4 separate regions of the Homo sapiens genome follow, and regions 2, 3 and 4 are each linked to region 1. The links are contacts of gene promoters, found by promoter capture Hi-C in human tissues and cell types (Jung and others, 2019). All regions are on one chromosome and are shown on one strand. The core of a region is centred on a gene start or on the middle of the fragment in contact, and the rest is flanking DNA. Distances in the headings are between cores, read along the strand shown.

The links. Contacts are between HindIII fragments. The study calls those that stand out against the background at their distance.
Region 2: a contact is called between a fragment that was not itself captured here and the fragment with the promoter of VPS54 in region 1, in 1 of the 25 tissues and cell types used here (liver).
Region 3: a fragment that was not itself captured here is called in contact with the fragment with the promoter of VPS54 in region 1 in 1 of the 25 tissues and cell types used here (spleen).
Region 4: a contact is called between a fragment that was not itself captured here and the fragment with the promoter of VPS54 in region 1, in 1 of the 25 tissues and cell types used here (mesendoderm cells).

The regions. Positions count from the first base shown.
Region 1 is chr2:64,018,043-64,020,765 of GRCh38, reverse strand. VPS54 (VPS54 subunit of GARP complex) reads left to right here and starts at 1,338. Exons shown (of 23, transcript NM_016516.3): 1 at 1,338-1,828. RefSeq lists a silencer at 1,215-1,924 and an enhancer at 2,085-2,154. The HindIII fragment of the contact is 9,038 bases long and covers 1-2,723 here.
Region 2 is chr2:64,651,636-64,654,358 of GRCh38, reverse strand. It overlaps SERTAD2 (SERTA domain containing 2), which reads left to right and starts at 446. Exons shown (of 2, transcript NM_014755.3): 1 at 446-739. LOC124907776 reads right to left here and starts at 288. Exons shown (of 1, transcript XM_047446580.1): 1 at 1-288. The coding sequence starts at 79. RefSeq lists silencers at 1-632, 370-664, 773-1,102, 1,403-1,482. The HindIII fragment of the contact is 3,819 bases long and covers 1-2,723 here.
Region 3 is chr2:64,608,715-64,611,437 of GRCh38, reverse strand. The region is part of intron 1 of LINC02579 (long intergenic non-protein coding RNA 2579); the gene reads right to left. Among named protein-coding and RNA genes, the nearest start is that of LINC02579, 2.8 kb to the right of the region's middle. RefSeq lists a silencer at 1,701-2,380. The HindIII fragment of the contact is 5,089 bases long and covers 1-2,723 here.
Region 4 is chr2:64,557,214-64,559,936 of GRCh38, reverse strand. The region is part of intron 2 of AFTPH (aftiphilin); the gene reads right to left. It overlaps LOC105374773 (a long non-coding RNA gene), which reads left to right. Exons shown (of 7, transcript XR_007086343.1): 5 at 1-2,485. Among named protein-coding and RNA genes, the nearest start is that of MIR4434, 33 kb to the right of the region's middle. The HindIII fragment of the contact is 5,920 bases long and covers 1-2,723 here.

The DNA of each region.
Region 1 (2,723 bases), core at 89-2,588:
TAGATCACTAAAATTTATTCCTCCTACCTGAAACTTTATACCCTTTGACTCACATTTCCCCTTTCCTCATCACCCTTTACCCCCCAGTCTTTGGTAACCACCATTCTACTCTGCTTCTATGTAAACTCATCTGGTTTTATAAGTGATCAGGGATTTAAGAGGACTTCACTCTTTTACAGTTAAATTTATTTCATATTGGGGAATGATTTTCTCACTTTGTTTCTTACATAATTTTAGAGGATTGAACTTAGAAAAATATAATGTAAGAGTTTTCTCTCAACTATTTTTGATGCTTCCTTACTTTTTGTCCTCTTTCCCCAACTTTAGCTCTTTGGTGGGGAAAATATTATTTCATAAAAGTTATGTTTGCAGTTTTCAAAGTGACTTCTTAGAAGTGAAACTTGGATCAACATTTTTTTCAACCCCCCAACTATAAGAGTTACATTTTCACTTTTGATTTGTTAAAACATACTATGTCTTATAAATGCTTGAAATTTATTTTTAGGCAAGAATTTCAACATTGAATAAAATCTTCCCAAAATTAAGTCACAAGCACTCAAAGGATTGAGGATCTTTTTCTTCCTAAAATATATGTGTGTGTGTGTGTGTGTGTGTGTCTTTATATTTATATACTAAGACCTTCCCTTTCTTGTGGACTGTGTTTTATTGGTTTAAAGTTGCAAGTCCTGTGAAACCAGGCTGAAGTCAGAATTAGAAGGTATTAATTATCATACACACTCCAAGTATCTCAGTCAAGTAACAGGAATAACTGATTACAGTGTCTGGGAGGAAGGCCTGGAACTTGGGGAAGACTTGGAGGGGAGGACTGGATGGGGAAAAGGCCTCAATAGAGAGAACTGGGTTGTTGCGGAGGGGTGACCTTTAACCTTTGGAAGGGCATTTACTAGGGAACAGCTGAAAAGCATTTACTTCGAGGGGGTGGGGGAGAGGAGGAATCTCGTGGAAGTATTTGCTTTAATAGGTCCCGGGTGATTTAGGGATGTTTCGAGTCGGTTGGTCTTGGGGGTGGCGAGGGCTACGCTGGAGGGGTCGCGTCCCAGTCCCGGGGAAGGCGGCAGGAGGTTTTCTGGGTGTTCCTGAAAACTGGGAGTTGGGGGGAAGGGTGGTGGGGAAAGTGGAATTCAGCGTGGATTTGTCTGCGTGTAGGACTATTAGAGGAGGCGCAGGGGAGCCACGCGGTGTATTCCCCGCCCCGAGAGAACTCTGGCTGCGCCTGCGACGGGCACGCCGGCCTGCGCCAAGGCCGCTTTCCCCAGGCGGCGGGCGCTCCCCCCGGCCCGGGCCGCGGCCCTCCCGCCCCGGCGGAGCCGCGCGGTGGATTGTGGGCTGGGGGCTGCGGCGGCCTCCGGCGCTGTCTCCCCGCACCCGACCGGGCCGAGCCGGCTGGGCCGGCGGGGTGAGGGAAAGCAGTGGAGTCGGGAGCAGAAGCGCTAGAGGCAGTGGTCGTGGCGCGGCGGCGGCGGCTCCCCTGGAGGCCGGGGATGTGGGAGAGGCGGTGGCAGCAGCGGCGGAGGCGGCGCTGCGGACCCGGGGGAAACTGCTGGCTGACAGGACACCCGGGAGAGACGTGAGGGAGCCGCCGCTGCCACCTCTCACCCCTGAGTGAAGCTGGGCTCGAGAGGGCGGCCCTGTGCTCCCCGGGCCGACTGGCCAGCGGGCGCGGGGCGGGGGCGGGAACCCGGGCTCGGGCCCGGCCGGGCGCCGGGCGGCGGCGGCCGTGGAGCAGCAGCCTCGGTGCGACGTGGAGGGCTGGAGGCGGCGGCGATGCACTAGGCCTCGCTCAGGGCGGCTGCCCCGGGACCCGCAGGTAGGTGTGCCCCGCGGCCCCCCGCGCGTCTCAGCCCACTCTCACCCCGACCTACAGCGGAGAGAGGGACCGAGACCCCACCCCCTCGGCTCTCCTCCCCAGCCCCAAACGGACCGAGTTTCGGTCACAGCTGACCGGCACTGAAGCTTCCATGCTCCTCTCCGCCACTTCCTTTTTTTTTTTTTTTTTTCCTTTTCACTCTCCCTCCGGGATCGGGGCTGGCAGCTGTGTTCCCTGCCTCCTGTCAGCGACCGCAAACGCCGCTCTTGCCCCTCTCTTATCTTTCCGGGATCCCAGCTCTGGAACTTCCATCACCCCCTTAGACGCTGCCCCCAAACTTTCCTTTTCTTTTTCCAGCCAGGCCCTTAGTCCTATTGGATTCTACTGGAATCGTTAAAACATTTGTTTGTTTTTCTCTCCGGGGAAGGCTAACCCAAAGAGTTACTCAGTATTTTGCATTTTGGCAATGTAGCTTGAAATAATTTGTGCAATAATTTTCTTCAGTTCTGCCTCCTTCCATCTCTGCATAGACAGAAAGGGCAGGCCCTCTCTGCCGTTTCTGCTCTCCCGTCGTTGACTTGGGAACTTTGGCTTGCCAATTATAATTAGCCGTTTGGTCTGTTCATGTGTTGAGTTCAAGATGGTATTTTTAGCATTTTGACTGACAGGCGTTTCAAAAAAAAATTTTTTTCTTCTAACCAGCTTTATTTTTTGGTCTTTATTGAGGCTCTTTCGAAGAATTAAATTGTTTGGACTGTTTTTGTTTTTAATTGGCTGTATTTCTGATTTGTCAAATCAAGGGCGGTCTTAATACTAAACGCCTTTAAGTAATACCGTGATAAATTACTTGTAGTATACCGAGAAATATTACTGCGATAACCTAAACTGCAGATTT
Region 2 (2,723 bases), core at 86-2,585, 630 kb before region 1:
CATATTTGCGGTCGCGCGGCTCCGCGGGCTGTGCACGCGCTGCACTCGCCGCCGCCTTTGTCACCAGCCGCTTCGTCATTCGCCTGAGCACTTCTAGAGTGTGTAGGGGGCGTTACTAGTGGCAGTGGTGGTCCTCGGGCCGGAGTGTCTCCTTCTGTCTCCCCTCCTCTTTCAGCCCGTCCTTACGAGAAAATCAGGGGCGCGCCGGCCCGGCAGGGAGCTGGGGGCGGCGCTGCCACCAGGCGCCCACTGCGCCCCGCCGCCCCTTCCTGCTCCTCCTGCGGCCGCGGCCGGCCGCGGCCGGCCCCGGCCTTTATCGCGCCTCCCGGGACCGCCGGGGAGAGGCGGGCCGGGGCGGGGCCGGCGGGGGCGGGGTCGGGCGGCCAGGGGCGGGGCCTGCGGCGCCGGGGCCCGGAGCTCGCGGGAGGCTCGCGGGCCGCACGTCACTCCTGCACGGCGAGTGCTGGAGCACGACGTACCGCTCGCTCGGTCAGGGCGCCCCCTCCGCCCGCCTCCTGCTTCCTCCTCCGCTGCCTGCCGCCGCCGCCTCCACCATTGTATAATGCTCGGGGCGCGCAGGCAGAGAACGGCGGAGTCTTAGCTTCAGCCTCGCCTGCTGCCCGCTCCCCGGCGCCACCCTCGGGCCCCTGGAGCGGGGCACTCCGCATGGAGCGGGAGTAGCTGAGGAGTGGGCGGAAACCCCTCCTGATGCGTTAGTTCCCAGGTGGAGCTGCATGTGGTAAGTTCTCCCGGCGTCGGGCTGGAGGGGATCCGCGGGCGCGGGGGGCTCCGGGTGGATGGGGGGCCGGTGTTGGGACTCGGCCAGGGCTGGGAGAGCCCGGAGGGCGGAGGAGGGGCCGGGCGCCGCCGCGGGAGGGAGCCGGGGACGGAGCAGGTACGGGAGGAGCGCTCCCTCCCGCGGCCCCGGTCCGGGCCCCGCGCTCTCGGACCCCCGGCGCCTGCGGGCTGAGCCGCTGGGGGGCAGGGCCGGGGTCAGGAGGGGGTCGGGAGCTCGGAGAGCCGAGCGGCGGGCGGGGGCGCCTGGAGCTGTCGCCTCTACAGCTGGGATGTGTGTGCGCGTTGTGGCGGTTGTGTTGTTGTGAACGTGCGAGACTTTTTTTAAGGCTCGGATTGCTGGCGCGAAGGCTGCTTCACTTTTGAGTTCCGTGGCCGGGTTTGCATCCAACTTACTGTAGTGCGTTTTTGTGAATTTCCCGGTGTTTTTTTTAATAATGTTGAAAACCTTCCTCTCCACCCTCTTTTCTTTCGTCCATGCCCAAATGAATTGATTTGGGATCTACATGTATATTAAACTTAACGTCTCGTTGGTTTTTAAGTTAGAAATCTACAAGTCATCTTCGTGGTAACCGCCTATGACTGAAAGGGAGGGGGCTGAGGGGAGCCAGCTGTCCCAAGCCCTAGACTTTGTACCAGTAAGAGAGGGGGTGTCGTCACAGGGCCACTACATGGACAGAAAATCGTATTTTGTTTTGTTTTCTTGGCTATAAGTTACCTTTAGCAGAAGTGGTAGTAATAGATTGCGATGGGAGTCGAGTTTTAGGTTTAGTTTCTAAGTTTCACGAAAATATCAGGTATAGTTTGCATTGGAATAACTTTTTGCTTGCAAGCCGAGTCGTTTCAGGAGGTAGAAAGTAAGTTTTCACAGACACTGAATGGGGAGGACAGTCAGCAGAGTGAGACAGCCAGCCTCAGACCACAGCAGTTTTTATTTGAATCGAATTGGGCAGCCTCAGTTGGGCTTAGGGTAGAGAGTACATGTTTTCAAGCTTTGTTCATGAAATACGCTTTTTGATTTCCCAATGTATGTTAAGAAATATCCATAATGTGTGTAAAGAGGCTAGAAGTTGTAGTCACCAGGATTCCTGAGGCCCTAAGTGTTCACAGTAGCTTTTTGTAGTTAGAGACTAGTCCCTGACAAGAGTGAAGTGGGCTTTGGGCTTCGCTCCGCCCCTGAAGGACCGTCCACCTGAGAGCGTCTGGGCTGCTTGGCCGATGGGGGTTGGGGGTAGTTGCTCAGCTCAGCAGAAGGCATGTCTCACCCTGGCAGCTCCCATCCCTCCCCCTTTTTATAGCAGTCTATTCTGATATGAGTGTGCTAGGGTGTGCTGTGAAGATGAAAATATCCATCCTAAGATCCCAACTTCTGGAGTGAACAAGAATAGTTTGTTTGTGGATCTCTGCTTTTCTGTTTATTTTTTCAGGGTTTTTTTTCTTTTTATTTAAAAGAGACAAATGTTTAAAAGTTTTCCTTTAGCTTCATTGACTTCTTTAGAGGGGTATTATATGTTAATATAAAATTGTTTATGTCGTTCATTAAGTTTGGAATCCTTTAACAGTTTTTTTTTTTTACTTGTTTCACCCCCTAATTAAAATATACATAACCATGTTGTTCTCAGATGAGAAATCTTATTTTGGATTTGACATCCCCCAACCCCCTTTTTCCTTAACACCCGGCCCTTTTCCTTACTTCATTCAGACAGGTAAGGGAGAGGACTCACATTTTGTAAAGCCAACCAAGTGTATGTGTGACAGGAGGTGTCCTAGGGAACGGTTTTATTGTCAGGCGAATGTCACAGCGTCTTAGGTAACAGCTGCTCAAGCTTGTTTCCCTTGAAGAACTAAGAGAAGGATATTAATTCAGATTTAGAAAATCTTTACACTTCTGTTTGCTGAATTGTCCCTCTTTAAAGCTTTTCTATTTA
Region 3 (2,723 bases), core at 118-2,617, 590 kb before region 1:
ATGTATTTTGCATAAAGTAGGTATCATACAATACCATTTTCTATGCTGCTTTTTACCTCATATCATGAGCAATTCTCCATGTCATTAGAACTGTTTTGAAAATGGGATTTTTTGATGGCTGCAGATTGTTCTCTCATGTGACTGAGCTCTCTTCTTTAAACCCCTCCCACATTGTTAGGTTTTTCCGTTTGTTTGTTTGTTTGTTTTTGAGACAGAGTCTTTCTCCATTGCCCAGGCTGGAGTGCAGTGGCTAGATCTTGGCTCACTGCAACCTCCGCCTCCTGGGTTCAAGCGATTCTCCTGCCTCAGCCTCACAAGTAGCTGGGATTACAGGTGCCACGCCGGGCTAATTTTTTGTATTTTGGGTAGGGATGGGGTTTTGCCATGTTGGCCAGGCTGGTCTCGAACTCCTGACCTCAGGTGATCCACCCACCTCCTTCCAAAGTGCTGGGATTACAGTTGTGAGCCACTGTGCCCAGCCTATTGTTGGTCATTTAAGGCCTCTCTGATTATTCCCATAGAAGAAATTCCTGAAGTAGAATTGTTGGGATAAACAGGCTCTTGACAGCACAATTGGCCCTGAACAAACACCTGCTCTATCAAACCCTCTCCCATCCTCCCCAAGCAGACCAGCCAGAAAGCCCCATCTTCTGGGGCCCTCCTCTCATCCCTAACCCCCAGCCCCCAACCTCTTACAACCCATTCAAAGGCTTAGAAGCAGGTGAGAGGGTCACCTGGAAGATGGGACTTGAGAGACCTGGCCGGCCTATCCCAAATCTCCCCTCGCTCTGATCCGTACTCCACCATCAGAATCATCCCCTTGAGTCAAGGGCAGGGTGATTCAAAGGTTGTTGGCTGCAAAATGGACTTCTGGTGGGAGATATTGTGCAGTGAGCCAACATTCCTTAACACACCACGCTTAGCCCTCCCTGTCACTAGGTTAACAGCAGACACTTGGGTCTCAGGGGATGCGACACATTACAGAGTTATGAATGTGTTAAATTTTATTGTAAATATTATGTAAACATATTTTAAAATATTCTGGAAAAAAGACAAAAAGTTATGGTCACATCTTTTGAATTATTCCACATTTTTCTAGGTGGAATAAGAAGGGACGTAGTTCCTTCCTATGAAATGGGAATAATCTTTAGTGAAGGTTGGAAGTATCTTCAAATGTATCCCAAACCTTCTGGGATAGATTTTCACTCAGCCTATAAATGACGTCCATGAAGCAAGGGTCCACGTTCCTGGCAGAATGCTGGATATGTGAGCCACGCCAGGTGCTGTGAGCCCCTCAGAGACCATTGACAATAGAGGGTCAGAGTGCTTTTCCAGCTCCATTGCCAACAACTTGGGATGTAATCTAAACAGATGCTAAATGGATCAATCCTTTGAGGAAATTTGTGTCAGTTTCCAAGTCACTCCTGGTCATCATCCAGGAAAGACCATTTTTATTAAAGTACCCCAGGGCTGCCTGCAGGAACCATTTTCCCTGTCTCACCAGTCAATAATCAGCAGGACTCCCTGCTATTTCAGGGAACAAAGACAGGGTCGCTGTCCCCGAGAGGCTCAGTCCACCCTCCCGCTCTGTCCACCCTCCAGCGGGGTCTGGGCTCCAGAGCGGAGGTTCTCAAGCTTCCGCAGCGTCAAAACCGCTTGGAGGTCCACGACACCCAGTCTGCTGGTGCAGGGGTTCTCATCCAGAAGATCTTGGGTGGCTACAGGAGCCGCATATTTTTCTACCAAGGTCCCCGGGGATGCGGCTCTTGGCCCCAGGACTGGGCCCAGGAGGTCAGAGAGAGTGACCGTCAGGCGCGGCGCCGCGGGGAGACGGCCCGGGCTCAGATCCCAGGGTGGAGGCGGGGGCGAGCGCCCGGCAGAGGGGACGGGGGGCGCCGAGGGGACCTGGCGCGGCCGCCGGGCCTTGGGAGCGCGACGCGGAAGCCGCCGGAGGCCGGAAGCTGGGGCGCCCCCGAGCGGGCGGGCGGCGGACCTGCGGCTCCGGGCGGTTCGGCAGCGCAGCGCGGCGCGGCCGCCTGCAGGCTCCCAGGCTCGGGTCCAGCCGCCACGACCGGCTCGCGTGGCTCCGGGGGAGCGGCCGAGAGTGAAGCGCGGAGAGGGCGCCTCGGAGGCTGCCGGGGCGGCGGGGCGGTTGTCCTCTGTAGAGGGAGCGGAGCTTCCCCCTGCCCCCAAGAGCACCGGCAGCCCCGGCCCCCCGCATCCTGGCATCCCGGGCCCGGCGGCCAGAGCAGGCCCTGCGCCCCCTCGGCTTTCTGGTCCTCGTGCGTCCCCCGGGGCAGAGGCGCGAGGAGGGACGGCCGGCTGAGGCCTGTCACGCCTTCACTCCCGAGTGTCCAGGCGGACGGGGTCCCTGCCTCTCCAACCCCTCCTCTCCCTTGGCTTCCCCCAGGGCACAGAGCGCTCCTCCTTGTCCACAGGAGACACAAGGCTTCAAACGCACACCCCCACACCCCAATCCTCTCCAAACACACTCAGGGCGCTGGCCACTGGTTCTCCTTCCTCCTTCCTTCCTTCCTTCTTCTGTCTTTTTTTTTTTTTTTTTTTTTTTTTGACAGAGTCTTGCTCTGTCGCCCAGGCTGGAGTGCAGTGGCACGATCTCGGCTCACTGCAACCTCCGCCTCCTGGGTTCAAGCGATTCTCTTGCCTCAGTCTCCCGAGTAGCTGGGATTACAGGCATGCGCCACCACGCCCGGCTAATATTT
Region 4 (2,723 bases), core at 114-2,613, 540 kb before region 1:
AGCCCAGGAGTTGGAGACCATCTGGGCAACATGGCAAAATCCCATTTCTATAAAAAATACAAAAATTAGCCAGGTGTGGTCGCACACACCTGTAGTCTCAGCTACTAGAGAGGCTGAGGTGGGAGGACTGCTTGAAACCAAGAGGTGAAGGCTGCAGTGAGCAGAGACCATGCCACTACACTCCAGGCTGGGCAACGGAATGGGACCCTGTCTCAAAAACAAACCAAAGAACGCGAAAACATGTTATTCTGGGAGTACCTGTGAGGGTGTTTCTAGATGAGATTAAGATTTGAATTGGTAATCTGACTAAAGCAGATTGCCCTCCCTAATGTGGGTAGGCCTCATCCAATCAGCTGAAGACCTGAATAGAACAAAAATGCTAAGGAACTTCTGCCTGATTTTGAGTTGGTACTTCAGTTGGACTTGAGCTAAAAAATCAGCTCTTCTTAGATCTTAAGCCTGCTGGCTCCTGGGCTGGAACTTACACCACTGCTCTCCTGGTTCTTAGGGCTTTGGACTCAGACTGGAACTACACCATCAGCTCTTGGGTCTCCAGCTTATGCACTGTGGCTTTTGGAACTTCTCAATTTCCAATAATCAATCTCTCTCTCTCTACTACCTCCACTTCTACTTCCCCTCCCCATCCTTCCCTCCCTAACCTCCACACATACCCTATTGGTTCTGTTTATCTGGAGAACTCTAATACACCTCTATTTTATAAATGACTACATCTGGGCATAAAGAGATTAAGTGTATTGCAAGTCTCATTTAGCTTTCCAGAGAGGTGTACACAGGACCCCAGACTCTGGTTCTTATGCCATTCAAATGCCTATCTCCTTTAAAGGACAGCAGGTCCTTGAATAATGTCATTTTGTTGTAATGTTGATGAGAAAAACAACTGATTCCTGGCTGCAGCCACTACCTGTGTGGAGTTTGCACATTTTCCGTATGTCCACCTGGGTTTTTTTTCTGGGTATGCCAGTTTCCTTATAGATCCTAAAGATGTGTACATTAGATTGTCTAAATTGTTCCAGTCTGAGTAAGTGCTGGTATGTGTGTGTGAGTGTGCCCTGCAATGGAATGGCATTCAGGCCAGGAATAGTTTCAGCCTTGTACCCTGAGCTGGAGGGATAGGCTTCGGCCACTGATGACCCTGAGCTGGAATAAGTAGATTGCAAAAAGAATAAATTACAAAGTAAACATTCGTGAAGTCTACAATAATCATACAAATGCACAGCAATAAATTATGCAGTATGAAAGTGCCCAGTGAGCCTGCCAGATTTGTGATTGTTTTTGAATTGTATGGTGGTAGGAGGTGCTCCTTAGATCATTTTTGCTTTGCAAACGTTTATCCCTTGATTTTACCCAGCACCACTATGAGTGATGTCACTCACTGATTCACCAAAAACTGGGTAAGTAATTATGTTTCTTGTTCTTTGTAATCTTTCTTAAATGTGAGCATAGCTCACATTTATTTCAATGTTTAATATTAGAAGTGCTTTGTGTCTTTATTTAGAGGTTCAGTGATGTTTCTGTGACCAGAAAGATGCCATAGAAACTTAACTCTTGTTTATATCAGTTAGCCTATGGTAAAATTGGTTTTGTTATATGTCCTTTCACTTAAAGTTGCAGTTTCCAAGACCCTATCAAGGATATTAAGTAATGACTTAAGTATTTTATATTTAAGGTAACTCTTGATATTCCTTCAACTTATTTCCAGTTAGTTTTCCTTTCTTGCTTAGGGACAGGAGTTGATTAATATCAATAGTTTTAATATTGATAACATTAGGTTTCACACTCAAGTAGAAGTTTAGAAGAAACATTAAAATCCACTGGGTAATTTAATCTTCCATTTAAGAGGATATCTTATGCTGCAGCACCATTAAATATTAAGTAAGCTATCAAGTACAATCTACAACTGTATACTTACCAATCCCCAATTTCAAGCTGTATAAAGAGTGACCAGCTGTAATATTCACCAGATCTAAACATGATTTTTCCCTTCTGTACAGTTTCTGAATAAATCTAATAAAGCATTTCTATTTTGAAATTAAACACCAGATAGTCAAATTTTCTGAGGAAAAAATAGCAAAAGGAAATTCTATCGAAATAGTTAAATAAGGAAAGATCTATAAGGAAAGCTAAAGTCTTACATCTTAATTCTCTTATTTTGTTGCTTACTTCTGTTTTCAGTTGTATGTTCCAGTGTTCACAGGATGGAAAACCTGCATAAATATTAGCTAGATGACTAAATAAGTGAAGATGAAAAGGTAGGACTGGTTATATTCAGTTTAAGAACACTGAGTTTCTATGCCTGTAATCACAGCTACTTGGGAGGCTGAGGCACGAGACTCGCTTGAACTCAGGAGGCATAGGCTGCAGTGAGCCGAGATTGCACCTGCACTCCAGCCTGGGCGACAGAGCAAGATTCCGTCTCAAAAACAAAACAAACCAGTAACTTAATCTTGAACTAACACAAGCCAAGGTATTAGTAATTCTCTTCTTTTTGGTGGCACTTGACTTTCAAAGCTCTCAAAACAAATCTTCAGCTAACAGCATTTTCCCTGTAGCATTATCAATTGGATGTCTAATAAAAAATAACTCATAGCCTCCTTTTCTATACCCAATTAATATAAACAGATTACTTACCAATTACCTAAATTTCTAAATGATATCCAGAACAATATTTTAAAATTTTACAAAAGCTCAGGGGTAAATGCAGT